Regions from separate parts of the Homo sapiens genome. Here regions 2 and 3 are each linked to region 1. The links are contacts of gene promoters, found by promoter capture Hi-C in blood cells and fetal thymus (Javierre and others, 2016). All regions are on one chromosome and are shown on one strand. Each heading gives the region's core, a stretch centred on a gene start or on the middle of the fragment in contact. The rest is flanking DNA. Distances are from core to core; before and after follow the strand shown.

Region 1 (4,575 bases), core at 544-3,043:
CACCACCTTCCGCCCTATGATCAACCCACTGTACTCTACTGCCACCTGTGTTCTCTCGGCATTTCCCCAGCCTGGAGGTTTCCCCATTCTCGCCACAAATACCATCCTTCACGAACGATGCCATTTCTAGGATGTTGCAAGTTATGATAAACAACTGTTGAACAAATATTGCTTACAAGCTACAAGTTGAAAACGAGAAGGTTGCTACCTAAGTTCATGAAGAAATCCCCTTTCAAGGATTCCATCTGTTCCTAAAAGGCCAGCCACACAAATTCTAATACTCTGCATTATTATGGCCATTTGGGGACAAGATTTTAAATCTGAAACCATGACAAGAAAAAAAAAAAAAGCAAGATTTAAGAGAGTAAACTCCAGAAACAACAGATCAAACTGCCATTGTGTTTGTTTTTTTTAAATCAGTGAAATATTAAAACAAATGATAAACCCATGCCAACCTCACAAAGTTTCCTCATTCCTTGGAATTCAAACACCACCGATGGCATCATTTTATGATAATCCTTTGGGTATTTCACGTAAGTAATTAGACACAATGTAAAGCCAGTGACTGAGGGACTTAAACAAACTGTCCCCTCCGAGAGCCCAGTTGGAGCTTCCGACACTGACCTTATTCTCCTCTCAATTTTAACCCTCCTCAACCACTCAATCCATCCAAAAACGTCTGTGACAGTCGTGGCTCTAAAACCGCGCAGAACTTGACTACAGAACGGTCGGTGACAACTCCACATATGATTTATCCAAATTAATTTATTTTTTTGAATTCTAGTCCCATGCTCCCTCGGCTGTTTGCCCCGAACCCGTAGTCTACACCACTTCACCGACGTGAAGACCACCTTTCATTGTTTCTATGGGTCTCAGCATCCTTCCCTCCGTCCAGCTCTGTTCTCGCCGCACAAATGTCATTTCTAGCGTACCACCCTCCATTCCGCCCGGTGGGCAGCGCAGGGGCTTTCGGGTCCCAGTGGCCAGTTTCCTGGAGTCGGTCCCCTATGCACAGCCATTTTCTAGTTAAACGCTCTCTCTGCCACCGAGGGGGAAAAGGAACTTTTCCCCCCTTTCATGTCTCATGGGCTGGCCTCTGAACCCCTCGTGGAGAAGCCAACCCCGGCTCCAACTCCCCGGCAGGAGCGCGCTGCCGCCCAGGAGAGACAGCCGAGCGGCACAGCGGAGGCCGGTGCCAGGACAAGGGGGTGTGCGCTCTTCCCGCAGGCGCCCACCCTCACTTTTCCCCTCTGCAGTCCCCACCCGGGCGCACCGCCTCCAACCCGGTCTCCCCCGCCCCAGGCCCTGCCAAGCCGGGGCTGCTGAGGGAAAGAGGGCGCCGGGAAGCGGGAGGGATGGAAGTCAAGGAGAGTGAGCCCGCAGTCGCCGTGCCACTGGCCCTGCGGCGCGGGCGCAGGGCGCACGGGACTCCGCAGCAGGCGCCCCGCTGCAGATGCCGCGGCAGCTGCTGCAGGTGTGGCTGCGGCTGAGCGGGCAGCAGTGGCCGCGGAGCCCCGGGGCCGGGAGCAGAGGAGAAGCCGCCGGGGGAACCCGCAGCCGCTCGCCGCACGCTGCTGCCGCTACCCGGGTGTTTCCCCAGCACTCTCGTGCTGCCCCGGAATCCGGGGCAAAGGCAAGGAAGAAAGCTGGGCTCACCAGTGGTGCGCGCGGCGCTCGCCTCGGCTCCGGCGCCCAGCGGCTCTGCTCCAGTCTCGCCCTTCCCGGAGCGCCCAGATCAGATGCGGTTACAGCGCACTAGCTTCCTACTTGAGACCAGAACGGGCTCCGGCAACTGAGCATGCTCAGTGCCGTTCCGCGAGTCCCGCGCAGGGAGCGGCGCTGACGAGATTCCACTTCTCCAGGCTTTGGCAGCGGCTGCGCGAGGGAAGGCTGGAGGGACCCGGCGGGGAGGGGGCCGAATGGGAGAAAGGCGGGGCCGGGGGGTGGGGGCCGGGCAGAAGGAGGCGGGCCGCGCTCCCAGGGCGACCCCTGCAGGTGGAGGCGGCAGGGCCTGCGGGAGGCACCCTCCCCAATCGCCTGGGAACACGCAGGGAGGCAATGGGTCCCCCAGTAAGACCCAAAGGCAGGACGTGCAGTGCAGCCCGGGTATCCCCTCCGTGTGGCTGGTGTCTGTCTGCACCAAAAGGCAGTTGGGTTACCTTAGCCCTGGCTTTTCTCCCACACGCCAGCATTCCCTTGCAATAGGAAAATGTCCCCACAGGAGAGCTGCCCACACCCACCCAGGCTAACTGCAAGTTGTAGGCGACACCTTCTCCTTCCTTCTACCTCCTATCCCCACCCCCAGGCATATGCCGCACACACACTCTTCTTTGATCCGGAAATCACAAGATAATATCAGGGGAGAGATACAACTGCCGGAGAGGAAAAGGAGGTTTTCCTTTCCATTGCCAATAATATTATCTATAACTCTAATTGTAAGCGTGCAAACAAAGCCCTGATAAGAGTCGAGTCTCAGTAAACGGTAAACCGTGCTCTGCCCCAGACGCTGTGAATGACATCCCCAAAGTATCCTTAGGATTGCTCTTCACCAGGGCAGCGGTTGTCAAACTGGAGCCTGGATCAGAATCGCCTGGAGGGTTTGCTGAAGTACAAATCCCTGAGTCCCAATCTGTGTCTCTGAATGGGTAGATATGTGGTGGGGCCCAAGCATCTGTATATCTAACAAGTTCCCATGGGATGCTGATGCTGCTGGTGTGAGGACTATACACTTTAGAGAACCCTACCCATACACACACACACACACAGTCCTACCAAGGATCTCGAATTAAAAACTCACGTGATTCTTCCTATGAGGACTCTATGCAGTGGGGTGGGCATTACTTTATTCTTTCCTACATGAGTTTATTAAGGATCCACGAGGTCTTGTACTAGGCCTGAGGATAGTGGTGAATTTAAAAGCCCAGGCCCCTGCTTTCATGGAATTTATAGTCCGGCCGGGTGACAGACACCTATCAAATAATCACTCAAAACGGTTATTTCAAACAGGTAGAGTGCTGGGAGGGAAATGCACAAGGTGCGAATAGAGTGTATAGAGGGACCCTCATGCAGACTCAGTGAGGTTGTTACGAAGGGATGGGAGGGGGGCTGCCTTGTGGAAGGTGGTTTCTGACTTTTGCACTCCAATAACCTCTCCAATTAACAATTATCTCCCTCAGACCGAGCTGGAGGCCAGCAATCATGTCCCTCCTTCCTACAACATAAAAACAATACTGTCACAGAGAAATCCCTATAAATTCATGAAAAGTGTTTACTCTTGGGACTGAGTCTCTGCACCCCAAGATCCACCTAACACGTCCGTGGACCAAGGACAGTCGAGGGCCACAGTAGACCTCTTGGGGAAAATACAGGCTCTCTGAACTGGAGAGCCTGTGGTTCTTAGTCTGTGATCTTCAAGGCCAAAGAGGCAAGGAAACCAGCCCAAGACCACCATTCCCGTCAGGAGCGGAGATCGACCAGCCTCCAACCTTGCAGACGGGTCCTCTTTCCAAGGCACTCTATTCCCGGACCTCACAGCTCCCCTCAGATCCCCGGAACCCGGCCTGGCCACCCCGCTCTCTCTCGGGGGTCCGGGGTAGGTGAGCGGAGCCTGCCCCTCCCAGGTCGGTCTCTTCCCGACGGAGAGGAAAACCCGCGGTGGAGTCCGCGGCGGCGGGGGGGGGGGGGGGGGGGGGGGCGGGGCGGCGCGCGCAGGCGCAGAGGCCGCCAGGTTGGGCCGAGGAGGCGCCCTGCTCCACACCTGATGCAATCAGCCTTCCGGAAACGGGTCCCGCTGCCGCGCTCACCCAGGAAACACTTCCGCGCCCTCCTCTGGCCGCTGAGCTCCCGGGGACGGGTTCCCAAACTCCCCCGGCCCGACTTCGCCACGGGCGGTGTTCTGCGCCCCGTCGGGGATACGCCGGAGAAGTCGGGAAGTCACTGCCTGGGCACACAAAATCCCTGAAATGCCCTGACAGTGACGTCGAAACGGCCACCAAGCGTTGCGCAGCTGCAGGAGGAAATTCCCTTAATTATGAATTTACAGAGGGGACTGATCGGGGCCGGAGGGAAGGCTTTGACCCTTCCCTTGCTTCCTTCCTTCGTCCGCCTCCCAACACATTGTCTCTCTCACTGAAAGGAACGTTTAACAGCAGTTTTAAGGCAGTATGGAGAGGAATCTCCATGCCCTCTGTCTTGCTAAATATGTAACAGCACTTTAGCTTTGCTACATAAAGCTTTCCCACCGCGCGCTCATTTTATAAATACGTAATTGGTTTCTGCATACCTCATCATTTCAGTTTACAAAGAAAATCATTTCTCGTTTCACCACTTCATGCAATTTTTATATCTATTGTGAGTGGGTTTTTTTCTTCATGCTGACTCACCCATTAATTGTTTTCCAAGGAAATGAAATATCCAAGAATATTCCAAGAGCATGTTTTTTAAAGCATGGAAGTAAACGCTGTGAACAGTAGATAAAACTGACCTCTCTTAAGTCCCTTAAGGCCAAAGGTCCTCCTAGGGAGTTGGGGGAAGGAGGCAGATCCAAGGAATTTTATTTGGAAGGATACCTCAAGA
Region 2 (4,575 bases), core at 1,199-3,698, 480 kb before region 1:
CCCGCCTCAGCCTCCTAAAGTGCTGGGATTACAGGTGTGAGCCACCATGCCTGGTCAATTTTTATTTATTAATTTTTTCAGTCAGAGCAAGATAGCTTGATAATAAATTGACATTTTTAGGGTCAAATATAAAATATGCATGTGTCTGCCTTTTATTTTACTTTTTTAAAGAAGTAGACTCTATAACTAAGGTACTACCAGAACACAGTTATCTTCTGGTTTTTCATTTATCTGTTGTAATTGACCCAGATTGCTTAAACATGAGAATGTAGCAGCAAAAAAGAAATACACAGGCTAGGAAGCAGAGCTCAATTAAGAATAGAGAAAGCAGAAGAAAAAGAGAATAGACAAGGAGTCAGATGTAGGGTTCAATGGGAAAGGCAAGCAGTTCAAACTGGAGCAGTGTGAATAGAACCATATGAGTTGAGCAATCCTAAATAATCATGCTATCCAGATTTCAAGAAAACCTTTTTCTGAGTCACTTGGAAACATATAATTCTAAATTTAAAACCAGGTAGGAGCCAGGTTCTACGGCTCACGCCTGCAATCCCAGCACTTTGGGAGGCTGAAGTGGGCAGATCACTTGAGCTCAGGAGTTCAAGAACAACCTGGACAACATAGCGAAACCCCATCTCTACCAAAAAAATACAAAAATTAGCCAGGCATGGTGGCGTATGCCTGTAGTCCCAGTTACTTGGGAGGCTGAGTTGGAAGGATCACTTGAGCCTGGGAGGCAGAGGTTGCAGTGAGCTGAGATCATGCCACTGCACTCCAGCCTGGGTGACAGAACCGGACCCTGTCTCAAAAAAAATAAAAAATGAAACAGGGTAGCATTGGCATATGGAGTAAATACTGAACTGTATTGGCATGCTTATGCTAAAAAATTATTTGTTGTTTATCTAAAATTCAGATTTAACTGGGCATCCTATAAATTATCTGGCAACCCTAACTGTACATGCAATAAAAAAAAAATAAACAACTTACCAATTTGCCAGCAGATGGCTCCCCAAATCTAGTTTAGAATGAAACAGTGCATCCAAACATAGTGAGAAGTCATTATTGTTTCAGGGCTTTTGTTTTGAGTGTTTGTTTGATTGGCCTGGTCTGGTTGGATTCATTTTTTGCCAGGGGTGGGGGGAAGGGGCAGTGATAATTTTTATTTAGTTATATAAAAATATTAAATATCTTCTACCATCATTTCATACGATTCTTCATGATCCTTAACTTTAATGTTAAAATGAAAAAGAAATCACAATTTAATTTTCTATATTTTTTCTTTTATATTTGCTCAAGCATTTAAATACCAAGGCAACATGTATAATTTCAGTATAAGGTGACTCTGACATTTCGCGAAGGAATTCCATGCCCATTAGATTATGTATGCTGAGCATCAGGTTAGGGATCTTTATAAAAACTATACCTTTGCCTCTTTCATGCAGTCCGATTTGCTACAATATTTTAGCATTGAGGCATGAGCTTTGTTTTGACTCCAAAGCACACACCCAACACTCCCAATGAAATAATTGATTCAGTGGAATTTTTAGATCTGCCACAATTTTACCAACCCTTTGCTAATGCCAGAATACCTCCAAAAACAATCAAGCTTAGGCTCCGGTGAAAAACTCAGGAACCACCGTCAAGAAACATATAATAATTAAGTTGCATTTCCCACATTTCTATTAATACATAACGTACAACTCAATTTTGGATTTTTAAAAACTGTTGTCGTATACTATTCATTCTTAGTTCCACACTGGTTTAATAGAATCCTTCAAAGAATGTGCTGAGAAACCATGATTATTCTATAATAATGGCTTTCCTGCATTGCAAACGAATTAGGCTAGAATGTTCTCATACAATGTGAAGGGCACTATTTTAATGTGGCATTCACAAAAAGAGTGTATATGTCATATTAGAAGTGGTCTCCATCCTCCAATGCTCTGTGCCCCAGGAGGGTGCCCTGAATGGAATGCATCAAAGGGCTCCCTTGCTCTCAGACTGTGGGTTGGAATCAGCCAATCGTAGATATTGCAGCAGATGGGGAGAGCAGGAAAAGTGAGATCAGAAATATGTTTCTCCAGCTCACTCTCTACTGGTGAGTTGCCATGGGTTGGATGCAAACTTCTACTGAAGGCTATAGGTTCTATCAGGTGATCTTTTCTTTTCTTTTTCTTTTCTTTTTTTTTTTTTTTTTTGGAGACAAGAGTCTCGCTCTATCGCCCGGGCTGGAGTGGTGCAAGGGCACCATCTTGGCTCACTGCAACCTCTGCCTCCCAGGTTCAAGCGATTCCCCTGCCTCAGCCTCTTGAGTAGCTGGGATTACAGTCACGTGCCACCACGCCCAGCTAATTTCTGTATTTTTAGTAAAGATGGGGTTTTGTCTTGTTGGCCAGGCTGGTCTCAAACTCCTGGCCTCAGGTGATCCACCTGCCTCGACCTCCCAAAGGGATTACAGGCGTGAGCCACCACACCTGGCCTATCAGGTGACTTTTTCTAAATAGACCTTTCCTGCTCCCTTCTCCCAAATCTGGGGTAGAGGTTCTGTTTGCTCCATTGGGCCCTTTAGGCACCAGTATCACTATACTGCACTATAATTTTCTGCCCACCCCGTTGCATCTGTAAGTATCCACAAGACTAGGAACTGTGTCTTATTTTTGTCTTACTGATAGTAGATGTTCAGTAAATCTTCACTTAATCTGATAGAAGTTTTCATAATACAAATTTAAATAATCTTTTTAAATCTCTAAAAAAACTTTTAATAATAAAAAGAGTATTTCTCTAACTCTTTTTCACATAAACAAGGGCAAAATCCTGCTGGGTCTTAAAAAATTAAGAAATCTTAAATGAGTCACTGAAAAGCCTGGTTTAATATTCTTCTCTTAATAAATATTTATTGATTTATTTATATAGAGAGATGGGGTCTCACTTTATTGCCCAGGCTAGCCTTGAACTCCTCAGCTCAAGCAATCCTCCCAGCTCAGCCTCCCAAGTAGCTGGGACTATAGGTGTGCCACTGCACCCAGCATTATAATAATTTTTTAAAAGGATTCAAAATTTTAAAGTGATTTTAAAACATAGATGAAAAGGGCTTATATTTTATATTTAATATACACTTTATAATCTTTTAGAATATTATAATATCTTATGAACTTTTTTCTTGCATATGAGATCAATGTTATATTTTTAAAGAGCTAATCATGATATCATCTGAATTTATGGGAACGATACTTAATAGGCATTATGTTATATAGAGAAAAGTATGTTTACTTAAGAGAGATCTGATCCATTCTTACAAAGCTTTGGAACACTTACAATAAATAATTTGTAATAGAGTTCATAATAGTGGAGACATTATGAACAGGTGGTATCTATTAACAGAATGTGAATTACAGATTTGGCATTTATCTAGTTTATCTAGGTAATCTAGTTATCAGCAATGCAAAATGGTTGATCTAGATAATCCAATGACAATGAAAAAATTCATTTTAAGCCTTAGATTATTTGAACCAACAATAGATACTGATCAAATTAACTAGAAAAATGACCAAAGTTAATTTTATTATGAATATATAAATATAGCCCTAAGGTAAGAACAGAACCACTTAGCATTTTATAGTGTTTAACCCTTCAGTTTCCTTGAAACTTTCACAGGAATTTTACTTCAGCATGAAGTTCAAACATATACTCTTAATTTTTTTCAAAACTCCTTTTAACAATCTCTTCTCCTACTTTAGAAAATTAAATATATTTATCCTTTTTTGGTAAGTAAATATTGCAATTTATATTTGGGTTTCACCACATTAGAATTCCTTCCTCTGAAAACATTCATTTCAAGATAGTTGGGCTAATAAATTTGTGAAAAAATTATTGGCAAAACGAAGTAGAAAAAAGGGGATTAAGTGAAGTCATGCATTATAGTGCTTCATTTACATATGAATAGAAATGTCAGTGATTAATAATAAATTTTATCTTAGTCTTTGAAAATAAGATTTCTTTTTTCTTTCTTTCTTTTTTTTGAGACAGGATCTGGCTCTGTTACCCAGGCTGCAGTGCAATGGTGCAATCTCTGCTCACTGCAATCTCCATCTCCCAGGCTCAAACCATCCTCCCACCTCAGCCTCCCGAATAGCTGGGACTACAGGCATGCACCACCACACCTGGCTAATTTTTTTGTATTTTTAGTAGAGTTGGGGTTTTGCCATGTTGCTCATGTTGGTCTCAAACTCATGAGTTCAAAGCAATCCACCCATCTTGGTCTCCAAAAGTGCTGGGATTACAGGTGTAAGCCAACATGCCTGGCCTGAAAATAAGATATTTCTGATAGAACTAAGATTTCCTTTAGTGAAAATTTGATACAAACAATACAAATAGTTGGTTTAATACTTATTTAAACAATATGTCTAACATACATATCTACGTATATATGTTGATATATGAATGTGTATATATACACACACACACACACAGTTTATCAGTCTGTGTGCTTGTACATATATATATGTATATACAGACATTATGAATAGATAGAAAGATAGATCCATTATCTATCCATCTATCTGTGTGTGTATATGTGTA
Region 3 (4,575 bases), core at 1,295-3,794, 260 kb before region 1:
TACGGCTCAGTGCAGCCATGGCTTGGTGCAACTGCGTGGCAACTGAAGTGTCAATGCGGTAGGGACCTTCGTATCGTGGCTCAGCCACTCCCTATGTGAGTGTCCTTGGACAAGTTCCTCAACCTCTTTGGGCTTCAGATGCACATCTGTAAAACAGGGATCATAATAGTACCTGCCTCACTGGGTAGTGTATAAAACACTTAGAATAAAGGTTGGCATGCAGCAGCCGTGTTCACTGCATGGATGGTCACTGTTAGTGTTATCATCACCATCACTAGAAATTGGAGGTCTCAAGAAGCCAATACTACAGCAGCACATTCGAGTCACTAAAGTCACAATATAAGAACATGTTTTCATAGGTCCCAAGGAAAATGCTCACTACAGAATCTCTAGGGTCAAATTATCATCATGGTTCAAAGCAAAAAGATCTCTGTAATACTAGCACTTTGAGAGGCCAAGGGGGGGTGGATCACCTGAGGTCAGGAGTTTGAGACCAGCCTGGCCAACACAGTGAAACCTGTCTCTACCAAAAATGCAAAAATTAGCCGGGTGTGGTGACAGGCACCTGTAATCCCAGCTACTAAGGAGGCTGAGGCAGGAGAATCACTTGAACCCAGGAGGTGGAGGTTGCAGTGAGCCGAGATTGCACCACTGCATTCCAGCCTGGGTGACAGAGCGAGACTCTGTCTCAAAAAAAAAAAAAAAAAAAAAGGACAAAAGATCATTTTATGGTGACTTTCATAGGAGAAGAAGGTCAGTTAGGCTCCCTCAGCAGGGCCGGACTTCCAGGATCTGAGGAGGTCCGGCAAGTCCAGATTCTACCCCACCTGCCTTGCTGACTGTCTTCCTTATTATACACCGTGTATGCCCCTGGCTGGTGACGCCTCTACTGTGACAAGACATCTTCTCTTTCTCCAAATATCTCTCTTCTCTCTCAATTAATGAGGAAGCAAAAATATTTCATAATTTTTAATTTAAATATTTCATAATTTTTAAAATAAAGATTGATGCCCTCATTCTCCATTTTTAAGTAGACTTGTGAAACTTCTAGGTTTCTCTCAAACATAAACCAACCCCAAATGAATAAACTTGCTTTGCATTTGTACATGATTCTGAGCTTCCCCCTGACTGGGTGTGAGGCCTTTATTTGGAAAAAAGTTCCCCATCCATAAAACAAAGCATGTTTTCATACATATCGCTGCATTTAATGCTCACATCAATCCCAGCTAGAAGTCAAGGGTGGAATCCAGGTCCTTCAGGTCTTGAATGCAAGTGCTATCTTCCCGCTGGGATGTTATAAAAGCTAGTAACAGTAACAGCAACAACTGCAAGGACACTGACGCCACTAGGTGCTGTATCACGCGCCCTGTGTCCTTCGTTGCAGGAGCTTGTGGTTTGTCATAGCTGCCCTATGAAGGAGGCACTATCTTTATCCCCATTTCTAGGGCTCAGAGAGGACAGCAGATGGGTTTACAGCCAAAAAGGTAAACTATGTCCTCATATAAAAATGGATTTTAGGCCAGGTGCAGTGGTTCACGCCTGTAATTCCAGCACTTTGGGAGGTCAAGGAGGGTGGATCACCTGAAGTCAGGAGTTCAAGATCAGCCTGGCCAACATGGTGAAACCCCATCTCTACTAAAAATACAAAAAAAATTAGCCAGGCGTGGTGGTGGGCACCTGTAATCCCAGCTACTTAGAAGGCTGAGGTAGGGGAATCACCTGAACCTGGGAGGTAGGTTGCAGTCAGCCGAGATCACGCCACTGCACTCCAGCCTGGGCAACAAGAGCAAAACTCCATCTCAAAAAAAAAAAAAAAAAGGATTCTACAGAGACCTGAGAAAAACCCAGATGGACAGCATTGGGAAATTAGAAGATGAATAAATAAGGATGACAACATAACCAAACAATGGCTACAAGGCTGAGGCTATGAGATCCACAGCTGGCTTGACCATGGTCAACTGGTGTGTCATTGCACCGAGATTCGCCCGCAGACTGGCCCTGAGCCCCAATCCACCCCGACATTCTGGGGATATTAAAAATGAGAACACTTCCAACTCAGGCCTCTATCCAGGGGCCTCCTTTAAATGCCTTTCCCCCGAATTCTGCTCCAGTAAATCCAGGCCAGCCACTCCAGCTGGCCCATATATTTCTAAAACCCTCGTGCTAGAAGCCTTAAAGATCAAATTCCTCTCTCCACATGCTGCAGAGGCTGAGATCCACATGCTTCTCCACCTTCCCTCCTTTCTAGTCTCCTGTCATCACTGCCTCTGACTGAAGGCACTGTCACCTGCTGACAGGGGACAGGTCAAGAGTGGGAGCTGAAAGCCATCGGTGTCCTTTCAAAGGGGCTCTGCGGCTCTTCGTAATTTGTGCTTTTTGTTCTTTTGTGAGGGAACAGGAAGCAGGGCCTGGAAGTCAAAGTGTAAAAATAGCAAGGCGAAGAGCCCCACAAAGTCTCTCTTGTGCTGGGAGCCTCTTGGGCCAAAAGCAATACTTGGCCTGAGAACAAGCCCATCTGTGAGCAGCAAGGACCGGCTCCTTCCAGCCACCTCAGGCGCCAGGGCTAGGGGCCTGGCTTCTGAACAAGGACCACTCCCGGGTGGGGCCAGTGTGTGAAGCAAACCCACTTCTAATAACCCTCTTCCCCCTAGGCTCACCTGCAGAAATCCAAGGGTCAAATGAAAATAGATTTGCTTCTAGCAGCAGCTGGAAATTTCCTCTCCTGCTGCGGAGGGCACAGGAAGGAGGAAGGGGTGAGCTGAAAGTCTAAATTTAGCAAGGTCTGTACTACAGAGCACAAGATTTCCCTCGGGTCCTTAGGAAGGCAATCGCTCCCTTCCCCAACATTTGTGCACCCAGGGCTTTGGGTGTGAAAGGCACGGGGTGGAGAGGAAAGAGGGAAGGTGGCTTAATTAATTCAACAAATGCTTCCTGTCTACTCTGTGCCAGACACTGGTTTAAAGCTAGGGGTGCAGAGGTGATGACAATAGATGGGGAACTGCACACCCGGCCTAAGACACTAGTTCTCAAGCATGAGAGTCACCTGGAGGGCTTGTGAGAACGTACACTGCTGGGGAGCCTCGGTCACTCTGGAGTGGGGCCCAGGAATCTGTATTTCTAACAGTCCCCACTTTTGAGAACCACTGGCCTAGGAAAAGAAAAGGTACTCATTCTTTTCTCTTTTTTGAGATTGAGTCTTGCTCTGTCACCCAGGCTGGAGTGCAGTGGCACGATCTTGGCTCAGTGTAACCTCTGCCTCCCAGGTTCAAGCAATTCTCCTGCCTCAGCCTCCCAAGTAGCTGGGATTATAGGCACACACCATCACACCCGGGTAATTTTTTGTATTTTTAATAGAGTCAGGGTTCCACCATGTTGGCCAGGCTGGCCTTGGGTGATCCGCCCGCCTCGGCCTCCCTAAGTACTGAGATTACAGGCATGCACCACTGTACGGCCAGGTAGTCATTCTTTTCCATCAAACTCTATCTAACTACTGGGCTCCACAGAAGAAGAAATGTGACGTGTGTACTCAGTCATTCATTCATCCACTTACTCATTCTTCTGTACCGATGACCTCCTATAAACGCCAAATATTATTTAGAAGCTGGGAATACAGCAATAAATAAGAGAGGCAAACAATCATGTCTGGGGATAGGGTGGGCTATTTAAGAGGATGTCTGGGAAGGCCTCTAAGGGAGTGAGGTCTCCCTAAAGTAGGAGAAGGAGCCAGCCTTGGGAAGGGACAAGAGAACAGCATTTCTGAAAGAGAGAACAGCATTTCTGAAAGAGGGAACAGCAAGGGCAAGGTCATGTGGCTGGAAAAAGACTGTATGTCATTACAACAGAAAGGTCACTCGATTAGGGGTGAGAGGTCTGTGATAAGGCGTAAAGCCCCACTGGCTAAAGATTCATCCTTTATGCAAAGGATTATCTGAAGCTATTATGTGATGTGATTTGTATTTTGAAAAGATCAGAGGAATAATCTGCACAATGTTCCCATTCTTGAAGGGATCTTTCTGATCTCTTACAAAGTCTTAGTGGCAGCTGCTACTACTGACTCTTTGGAGCAATGTTATTCTCGACGGAGCTTAACGCTTCAATCCAAACTATTTGAATTTAGCCTTAAAACTCTTTTTCAGGCTGGGCACAGTGGCTCGTGCCTGTAATCTCAGCTACTTGGGAGGCTGAAGTGGGAGGACTGCTGGAGGCCAACAGCTTGAGGCCAGCCTGAGCAACATAAAAAGATTCCATCTCCCTCCCCTAACCAAAACATATTTTTCTTTTTCTTTTTTTTTTTCTTTGAGATGAAGTTTTGCTCTCGTTGCCCAGGCTGAATGCAATGGCATGATCTCGGCTCAATGCAACCTCCACATCCTGGGTTCAAGTGATTCTCCTGCCTCAGCCTCTCGAGTAGCTGGGATTACAGGCGTGTGCCACCACGCCCGGCTAATTTTTGTATTTTTAGTAGACAGGGTTTCACCATGTTGGCCAGGCTGGTCTCGAACTCCCGACGTCATGTGATCCACCTACCTCGGCCTCCCAAAGTGCTGGGATTACAGGTGTGAGCCACCACACCTA

The links. Contacts are between HindIII fragments. The CHiCAGO score rates a contact against its expected background, and 5 or more counts as called.
Region 2: a fragment that was not itself captured here is called in contact with the fragment with the promoter of APBB2 in region 1 in 1 of 17 cell types (M0 macrophages); the score reaches 5.3 in M0 macrophages.
Region 3: a contact is called between a fragment that was not itself captured here and the fragment with the promoter of APBB2 in region 1, in 3 of 17 cell types (endothelial precursors, M0 macrophages and M2 macrophages). The highest score is 9.0, in endothelial precursors.

What each region holds. Positions count from the first base shown.
Region 1 is chr4:41,212,749-41,217,323 of GRCh38, forward strand. It overlaps APBB2 (amyloid beta precursor protein binding family B member 2), which reads right to left and starts at 1,794. Exons shown (of 18, transcript NM_004307.2): 1 at 1,657-1,794. RefSeq lists enhancers at 87-166, 3,734-4,548, 3,856-4,105 and silencers at 1,169-1,478, 1,889-2,058, 3,676-3,725. The HindIII fragment of the contact is 4,637 bases long and covers 1-4,230 here.
Region 2 is chr4:40,736,095-40,740,669 of GRCh38, forward strand. No RefSeq gene overlaps it. Among named protein-coding and RNA genes, the nearest start is that of NSUN7, 12 kb to the right of the region's middle. The HindIII fragment of the contact is 1,694 bases long and covers 1,602-3,295 here.
Region 3 is chr4:40,951,496-40,956,070 of GRCh38, forward strand. All of the region lies in intron 6 of APBB2 (amyloid beta precursor protein binding family B member 2), which reads right to left. Among named protein-coding and RNA genes, the nearest start is that of NSUN7, 200 kb to the left of the region's middle. RefSeq lists a silencer at 2,986-3,055. The HindIII fragment of the contact is 8,676 bases long and covers 1-4,575 here.